2 separate regions of the Homo sapiens genome follow, and region 2 is linked to region 1. Evidence: promoter capture Hi-C in 16 types of primary human blood cells and fetal thymus (Javierre and others, 2016). All regions are on one chromosome and are shown on one strand. The core of a region is centred on a gene start or on the middle of the fragment in contact, and the rest is flanking DNA. Distances in the headings are between cores, read along the strand shown.

What was found. Contacts are between HindIII fragments. The CHiCAGO score rates a contact against its expected background, and 5 or more counts as called.
Region 2: the fragment with the promoter of PAN3 here is called in contact with the fragment with the promoter of SPATA13-AS1 in region 1 in 1 of 17 cell types (non-activated CD4 T cells); the score reaches 6.4 in non-activated CD4 T cells.

The regions. Positions count from the first base shown.
Region 1 is chr13:24,252,467-24,256,686 of GRCh38, reverse strand. SPATA13-AS1 (SPATA13 antisense RNA 1) reads left to right here and starts at 2,248. Exons shown (of 3, transcript NR_046531.1): 1 at 2,248-2,351; 2 at 3,488-3,608; 3 at 3,731-3,938. All of the region lies in intron 4 of SPATA13 (spermatogenesis associated 13), which reads right to left. The HindIII fragment of the contact is 5,552 bases long and covers 1-4,220 here.
Region 2 is chr13:28,135,790-28,140,172 of GRCh38, reverse strand. It overlaps PAN3 (poly(A) specific ribonuclease subunit PAN3), which reads right to left and starts at 1,628. Exons shown (of 19, transcript NM_175854.8): 1 at 1,086-1,628. The coding sequence starts at 1,515. It overlaps PAN3-AS1 (PAN3 antisense RNA 1), which reads left to right and starts at 999. Exons shown (of 2, transcript NR_029383.1): 1 at 999-1,626; 2 at 1,768-3,330. RefSeq lists an enhancer at 587-881 and silencers at 964-1,363, 1,404-1,483, 1,674-1,783. The HindIII fragment of the contact is 2,991 bases long and covers 1-2,929 here.

The sequences.
Region 1 (4,220 bases), core at 999-3,498:
ACAGGGCCAGAGAAAAGTGGTGAGAGAAAGGAAGAGCACAGCACGGCGCTGCCAAGTTCTCGGAAGGGAGGGCTCCATTCACCTAGAAAGACTCTGCCTTCATTTCTTTAAAAAAAAAAAAATTAAATGCAATGTTCAATTTTCTATATTTTGAGAAAAATTTAGTTGTGGATACTACTTAATTTGGAGAGTTTTTTATATTATTATTTTAAACTCACATAATAATTGTACAATATTTATGGGGTACAGTGTGATATTTCAATATATGTATACAATGTGGAATGAGCAAATCAGGGTAATTAGCATATCATCACCCCAAGCACTTATCATTTATTTGTATTAAGAACATTTGAATCCTCTCTTCTAGCTATTTTGAACTATACAATACATTGTCATTAACTGTGGCACAGTAGGACTTATTCTTCCTGTCTAGCTCTATTTTTATATCCATTTACCAACCTTTGGTTATCAAGATTTTGAGAATACTTGACCAGGGAGGAGAAATATACTTTCATTATTATTTAAAAGTTGATACTACAGAAAATTTCAAATACACACAAAAGCAGATAATACCATGAACCCACGATTATCAGTCTTTTGCCAATATTGTTTCAACTATTTCCCACCAACTTTTTTGGAGTATTTTAAAACAAATCTCACATATCATATTTTATGCAGAAAGTATTTCACTATCTGTGTATAACAAACAAGGACTTAAAAATAACTGCACTATCTTATCCCAACTAACAAAATTAAAAATAATTCCTTCATGTTGCCAAATATTCAGTTCATCTGAAAATCTCCCCAACGTGTCTCAAAATGATGCTTTTACAGCTGGTTTGCTGAGCTCAATTTGTGGGCTTACTGAGCTGGATGCCATTCTAGCACTTCGTTGGTATATAAACCTAAAACCCTCAGTGCATAGAAAGGAAGGAGTTCCAGGACTGGGATGGAAATGCTAGAGATGGTCTATCATGTGAGTCTCACCACCCCTTGGGCTGCATCTCCCATGTGACAGCAGCTTTTATAATTAATGTACTGCTAATCTCTCTAGGCCAGAGATGCTGCTGAGAGATGGTTCCACTGCAATGCAAACCTGGTCCTCCATGGGGGTGGGACATCTGTCATGGGAAAAAGGTGGGCATAGTTACTATACCACACAGCAGGGCCAGCTTGGTCATCTGAATGGTTTGACCTGTGAAATCTCTGGTTGTGCTGTTAACTGATCTCGGGGTCCCCAGGAACAAAACAGATGAGTGATTCCACAAAGGTACCACAACATTGTGTAGGAGGAACTCTCCAGGGCTGGCAAGCAGAGCCCGACCTGAGCCACCATGACAGAGAAGACAAGGGAGGGCCCTCACTCAACTCCCAGACTCAGGCCTCTTGATGGAGCAGAGCCAGGGAGCCTCAGGGTAGGCATCCTACTACAAGTCTTCTTCCTAGCTTCTCAAAGAGAACTCCTACCATCAGCCTGGTGACTGTGTCCTCAGGACAGGGAAACTCCCGGCGGCAAATGTAAGCAATACTCTTCCCAAGCCTTTCTGAGTAGGAGAGATGGCTTTGGCAAGGCAAGGATTTAGCTCGTGCGCACTCCTGGTTAGGAGCTAATGGCCTGGCTGAATGGCCTGGAGGAATGTGGAAAGAACAAGATGGGCTGAGGATGGGTTTGGGGAAGGAGTATAACTGGCTACCTCAGAATACCCGCAGAGCATGAGATGATGTCCATCCTACATGAATCCTTATTGCAAGAGAGGCTAATCAATCATCATGTGGACATGCTGTCCCAATGTGCAGCTAGATGCCAGTCTTCCTTCCTAGTCATCTTGATACTTGCTCAGTGGGTTCATAAAAAGGAAAAAAAAAAAGAAGCAAGCAAGAAAAAGGCCATGGTGGCAAAAATGGATGCCAAGCCTGGGCTAAACCACAGGAAGTCTGGGCCTTCCCCTCAACAAAGCTGATGATACGGTTCCCCGCAGGAACCAGACAGCCCCTTGCGGAAAGCTGATTGCAGTGGGGCCTTTTCATAATAGAGGGGGTGGTGATTTGTCCCTACTGGAAGGGCCACTTATGCTGGGCTTGGATTTGTTTTCCTGCACTCTGTGGATCCTCTAGAAGGCCCCTATCCTGTCGCAGCATCTCACACGCCATCCAGGCCCAGAACGTCACAGAGAAGGAAGCACATGACCCCATCACACCCAATAACAACCAAATAAAAATGAAGTTACAGAGGCAGCTGGGAGACACACCCAGAAGTTGCCATACTGCCCTGGATGGGACGCAAGCTCTGAAGCAGTGACTAATTTGGAGAGGCTGGCCCACAGCAGAAGATGCAGGGCCGGAAACCAAGGGTAAACATAGAAGCGGCTTCTTAGGATTACTTAATAATATACTTGCAAAATGTTTTCTTCCCACCTAGGAACTCTGCTCTGTTGAAACTGAATTTAGTGCCCAAGGGAGAAGTACTTCCTCCAGAGTTCACAGTCCTGGCCACAGTGAATCAGAACCAAGGCTGGCCATTTTTGCCTCTTCGTACCACTGGGAAAATGAGCACCCACGGAAAATGGGGATGGCTTTTGTGGTCACTGCTACCATATTTCTCAAATGGACTAATGCAATCGCCTTCAAATCAATCTCCATTCCTCTTCCTTTCCCCCCACAAACTGCCCTCCCTCTCTAAGCATAAACCGGAACATAATATGCTCCTGCTGCCAATGGCTTCACACCACACTTAGAACAAGCTCAGCCTCCTCATGACCTGCAGAGCCCTTTCCAGCCTCAGCCCACCTCCCAGCCTGCAACATCCTCGTCTGCCTCTTGCTCCCTGAGCTCCTGTCACTGTGGCCTCCTTGCTGAACCTCAGACACATCATGTTTCCTGCCTGTCTTTGGGCTTCTGGTGCTCCTTCGGCTAGGACTTCTCCTCCCTCGGATCTCTGCCTCACTGCCTCCTACTCACCTGTCCCCAGCGTCACCTCCTTGGAGAGGAGGCTATCTCCCCCACCTGCTCCTACTCCTCACATTACCCAAAGTCATCTTCTGCAGGGCCGTCACTGGTGCCTTGGTGCATCCTACATATTGACTTATGGAATCTGTTCAAATGCTGAAATGTAAACTTTGCATGACGTTTTATTCTCCACAGCATCCCAAATTCTCTATTTCCTTCCTTTCCCTGCCTTGCCATTCTGGTAGGGATGTGTTGCTTAAATCTGCCTCTAGTTAATCAACGCTGAAGAGGCACTGCATGGAACTGGAGGACTAGTTATCCTAAGAGGTCCTAGACTTGGAGGTGTCTGCTGCCACTGATGAGGATCTGGGTGTCTCCTTCTAGGGAAGAGAGAGAGGGTTCATGGAACAGGTGCATCCTGTTCATTAGAGTGTCATTAGAATAACACTCTTTGGAAATGAATGCTCTCTATCCTGTTTTATTTTTCTTTATAGTACTGTCTGCTCTGTTAAATACTTACTTGGCCTGTCTTCACATATAGAAGGCAAGGGTCCCTGGAGACAGACACCCCACCCTTCTTCCTGTTCCAGTACCACCAGGTGGTGGACATATCACCTAAGCTCGGACAGCTGAATCTTCCATCCTGGGACCTGAACCCCTGGGTGAGTGACAGAAAGACAGTCACTAACTCCTAATAAGTTAACTCCTTATTATAACTCCTCCCCAAATAAGTATACACTTCTTCAAGATAGGGTCTTTAATTAAATGTTTTGTATTTTCAAAGCGCTCACTGGATACCCAGATAAAGTGCTCACTGGATACCTCACTAGCTCCTGGGACAGTGCCATGGCCAGTCTCCCATCACACACCTTCCGGTGGCTCCTCCACTCCCAGGAGTGAGCCTGGATGCCATCCCTTCCCTAGCCTGGTTCCCCAGCCATCCCATCAATTCTGGGCACACCTGGCCCCCTTCCAATAAATTCCCTTTTTGCTTAAGACAGCCAGAGTTAGGTTTTGTTGCTTTTCGACAAAAGAACGCTAAAATTAAAACATTTTTAACATAACAACAAAAACCAGTGTTACAGAAAGCAGGGAAAGGCTGTGTGTACACAGGTACGGGGTGGGAGGAGAAGTGCTCTACATTCCTACCACCCTAACAATGCTACTGTTATTTCTGCCTGTTCTTTCAAAATCTTCTGCCATATGGGTACACGTTGCATATTGTTACAAACATGGTATACGTTTTTGATTGAATTGTGTCCCCCCAAAAGATG
Region 2 (4,383 bases), core at 379-2,878, 3.9 Mb before region 1:
TTTGAGACCAGCCTGGCCAACACAACGAGACTACTATCTCAACTAAAACTACAAAAAATTATCTGGCCGTGGTGGCGCGCGCCTGTAGTCCCAGCTACTCCGTAGGCAGAGGCAACAGAATCGCTTGAACTCGGGAGGCGGAGGTTGCAGTGAGCTGAGATCGCGCAACTGCACTCCAGCCTGAGCGACAGGGCGAGACTCTCTCCAAAACAACAACAACAACAACAACAACAACACATGAAAAAGAAATATAAACAGCCTTAAGATGTCCCCACCCAAGTGCTCAGTCGCACATAAACGCAGGCTGCACATGACATGCATTCAAGACACAATGCTGAGTTTGCTTGATACAAAGCTATAGAAGACAGGATCCCAGCTGACACCAGCAAACTTATTCTAGCTTTCAGGGAAACTCAGATGAAATGCGTCTTTGTGAAATCCCTACTCTAAACTCTCGATTAAACCTGAGCACACTTTGAACGCGACAGTCCGCTCCCTCCTAATCCTTAGAAAGCATTTCCTGCCTGCAAAACCTTTCTCCCGCAAGCCTTCTACAAACTTTTTCCGTTCTTTCAACCTACTCCACGAAGCCTTAAGCCCGCCCCTCACCTCCCGCCCCCTACACACACACACACACACACACACACACACACACACAAACACACCCCTCCCCACTAGGGAACCTCAACACTCTGCAGACGCCACTCCACAAGGACACGCAAAACACATGTGCCTGCAAACCCAGCCCCTTTCCACACCCCCCGGAAACGACACCCCCTTTCTCACACTCCGCACGCCACAGCCCATCCCCCTTCCTCCCCGCCCCCCCTTCACATCACCCCAGTCCTCCCACCCACGTTCCCGGGAACCCAACCTCCCCGCGCTCTCCGACTTGCCGAAGGCAGTGGGGAGGGGAAGCAGGAAGAAGGAAGGAGGGCTCAGGCCCGGCCTAGGCCTCTCAGACCGCCTTGGGAGGTGAGGGGGGGAGCCCGCGGGCCGTGCTCAGCTCCCGTCGGCAGCAGGGCCTCATCCGGCCCAGGCCTGCCCTCCGCCGCCGCGGCCCGCCCCGCCCGAAAAACACTCACTTGCCAGCCGCGGTCCATCGAGTCCCCCGCTACTGCCTCCTCCGCCGGCTGCGGCTCCGGTCCCCGGGTCCCCCAGGTCCGGCTTCTTGGGCCCGGGGGGCGGCCCAGCTCCCCCGCCCGCGACGGCTCCCGGCGGAAAGCCGGCCACGGGTGCACCAGCCAGAGCCAGGGGGACGCTGTTGCTATGGAGGCCGAGGCCCGGGGCAGCCCCGGCGGCAGGGTCCTCATGCAGGAACTGACACTCCTCCCCGTAGAAGCAAGTCTTATCCTTAGCGTAGTAGCGGCAGTACTTCAGCTTCACTCCTACCGCCGCCCCGCCGGGGACACCCCCGACCCCCGGCGGGGCCACCACCGCCACCGCCGCCGCCAGCGAGGAGGAGGAAGGGGAGGCGGCGGCCGAGGGGGGCGGGAGGCCGCCGCCACTGTTCATGGCAACGCCGCAGCCTCGTCTTCCGCCGCCGCCCGAGGAGCCGCCGCCGCCACCACCATAGACGGGGGAGGAAAGGAAGACGCTGCCGGTGCCGGATAAAAGCCTGGGCGGGTGGGTCTGTCCCGCTGCGGGAGCCGGAGCCGCCCGGGGAGAAGGGGGAGGGGAGAGGGGAGGGAGGAGGGGGTAGAAGGAGGGAGGGTAGGGGGAGAGTTGGGATTCTCTCACTCACTCTCTCGTTCTCTTTTCTTAAAGGGGCCGCGCGGGACGACGGGGTGAGCGCGCGGGCCCAGACGGGGACTTCGAGGGCGCGGGCAGGGGAAGAGGGAGCGGCAGCGGCAAGCGGGTGGGGAAGGCGGAGGGGCCGGTTTATTTTTAAATTCTGCCTCCACTCGCTCTCTCGCGCTCTGGTTCCTCCGAGTTGTTTATTCCATTTTCCTCTTCCTGAGACGGCCGTCGCCGCTGCGCGTGCGCGCTGAGACGCGAGGGCTTATGGGTAGCGGGAGCGCTAGGGGAAGCCTGGCCGGCGTCGGGCCCCCGGGGGCATCCGCGAGCTATCGGCGGTTGGACCGGCGGCTCTCGGTGGGGTTCCGGACGCGGATCTGGCGCCGAATTCTCACGAGACCTGATACCTTCCTTATTTGTATATTCTCTTACTTAAAAAGCCAGATGTCTTTTTTTTTTTTTTCATTGAAAAGAGAAAATTGACAAGGTAAACGGTCGTTTGGAGGGGCCACCTGGGGACGCGGCCCGAGCCCTGGCTCTACCTGAAGAATATCTTCTATTTGCCACACTTCCTCTCCCCGTTTCCTTTCTTCGCCCCTCTCCTCTTTCCCCTTCCCCTCGAAGGTAATGAGAACTACTGGACCGATTACGCTAACCTCTTGGCCCTTTGTCAAAAAATGGAGCCAAAAAGGTTGATTTAGACAGACCCCCTGCTCAGTGCAGCACCTGTTATTCTCTGTATTTATATTACCAAGGGCCTTCGGTAAATTATGAAAAATAGGATGCCACCTGGGACAACACTGCTTAGACAGCACTGGAAGACCTTTATAAATATACTAGGTTGCTTTTCTCCAATCAGCCTAGCCTTGATTTGAAATTCATTTTTATTTTTTTTGAGACGGTGAAATTCATTTTTAAAAGATAGTTTTAACCTCAGCGATCTCTGATGTTTGCGCTAATACCCTTTTAAAGGCTTTCAGAAATTTTAAAGAATTGCTATGAAAGGAAAAGTAACATTCTAGTTTTTCTCTGTAAAAGAGGTTCACAAACGGCAGATCGCTGTTATGAAAAGGAGGGGTGGAAGTATTTAAGGAATTGTGGCAAACAAAGTCACAGAAGAATGGATATAAGCAAAAGTAGCACACTGAAAAAAATGGGGAAAAGTGGAGTCTAGATCACAAACTGGTAAGCTTGGTGATGTTCTCTAGCCAAATTCGAAGGTAATAACATTGTATTATGGCTTTCTGTTTAAAAGCAGTTTCGCTTATTTGATTATTCAACAAATCTTTATTAACACGCATTACGTGTACCAGAAACTGTGGTACACTTAACTGTGGAGCTGGGGAAGCAAAAGTGAACATGCCGCCTTAAGTGAGTTCAGATGGCTTATCTTCCGGTTGGGGAGGCATCAAGTACACAGGTCCGTTGTAAACCAGTGTCTTAAGTGCTAACCTTATCACATTTGCTATTAGAGGATATTAAACATGTCAGACTTCTTGGAGAAAGTTGATATTTTCATGTTCCAAGTTTGGGAACATCATTGAATTCAGACAGATCTGGATTGAAACAGATTAAAGTGCCTACACTTTAATAGCTGTGTTCCTCTCAGTTAATTGCTTCATTTCTCTGTGCCTTGTCTGTACACCTGGATTAAGAATAGTACCTACTTCATAAAGTATAACTAATAATGTATATAAACTGTCCCATGCCTAATAAGAATTCGGTAGGTTGTAACTATTATTAATAGTATTGGCCAGGCGCAGTGGCTCACGCCTGTAATCCCAGCACTTTGGGAGGCCAAGGCGGGTGGATCACCTGAGATCAGGAGTTCGAGACCAGTCTGGCCAACCTGGTAAAACACCGTCTCTACAAAAATACAAAAAAATTACTGGGCGTGGTGGCGAGCGCCTGTGATCCCAGCTACTGGGGAGGCTGAGACATAAGAATCACTTGAACCTGGGAAGCAGAGGTTGCAGTGAGCCGAGATCTCGTCATTGCACGCCAGCCTGGGCGACAGAGCGAGACTCCATCTCGAAAAAAAAGTAGTATTGCTGCTAGTGGTAGTCAGTGTATAGTCAAAGAGCATTCTAGGCAAACAGCTTTTATTGTTAGAATACAGTGATAGTGGAAAATGGAGCAGAGTCCACAAAAGTCCTTGTAGGGCCATGTTAAAGAATTGAACTTTTGGCCAGGCGCAGTGGCTCACGCCTGTAATCCCAGCACTTTGGGAGGCTGAGGCGAGCAGATCACGAGGTCAGGAGTTCAAGACCAGCCTGGCCAACATGGTGAAACCCCCGTCTCTGCTAAAAATACAAAAATTAGCTGGGTGTGGTAGCAGGCACCTGTAATCTCACCTACTCGGGAGGCTGAGACAGAAGAATTGCTTGAACCCGGGAGGCAGAGGTTGCAGTGAGATCGCACCACTGCACTCTAGCCTGGGCGACAGAGCAAGGCTCCATCTCAAAAAAAAAAAAAAGAATTGAACTTTTTCTTGAGGACAATTGGAAGTTATTACAGGGTTTTTAAAAGTCAACATGGCAGGGCACAGTGGCTCACACCTCTAACCTCACTGCTTTGGAAGGAAGCCAAGGCAAGAGGATCACTTGAGGCCGGGAGTTCAAGACCCTCTTGGGAAAACTAGCAAGA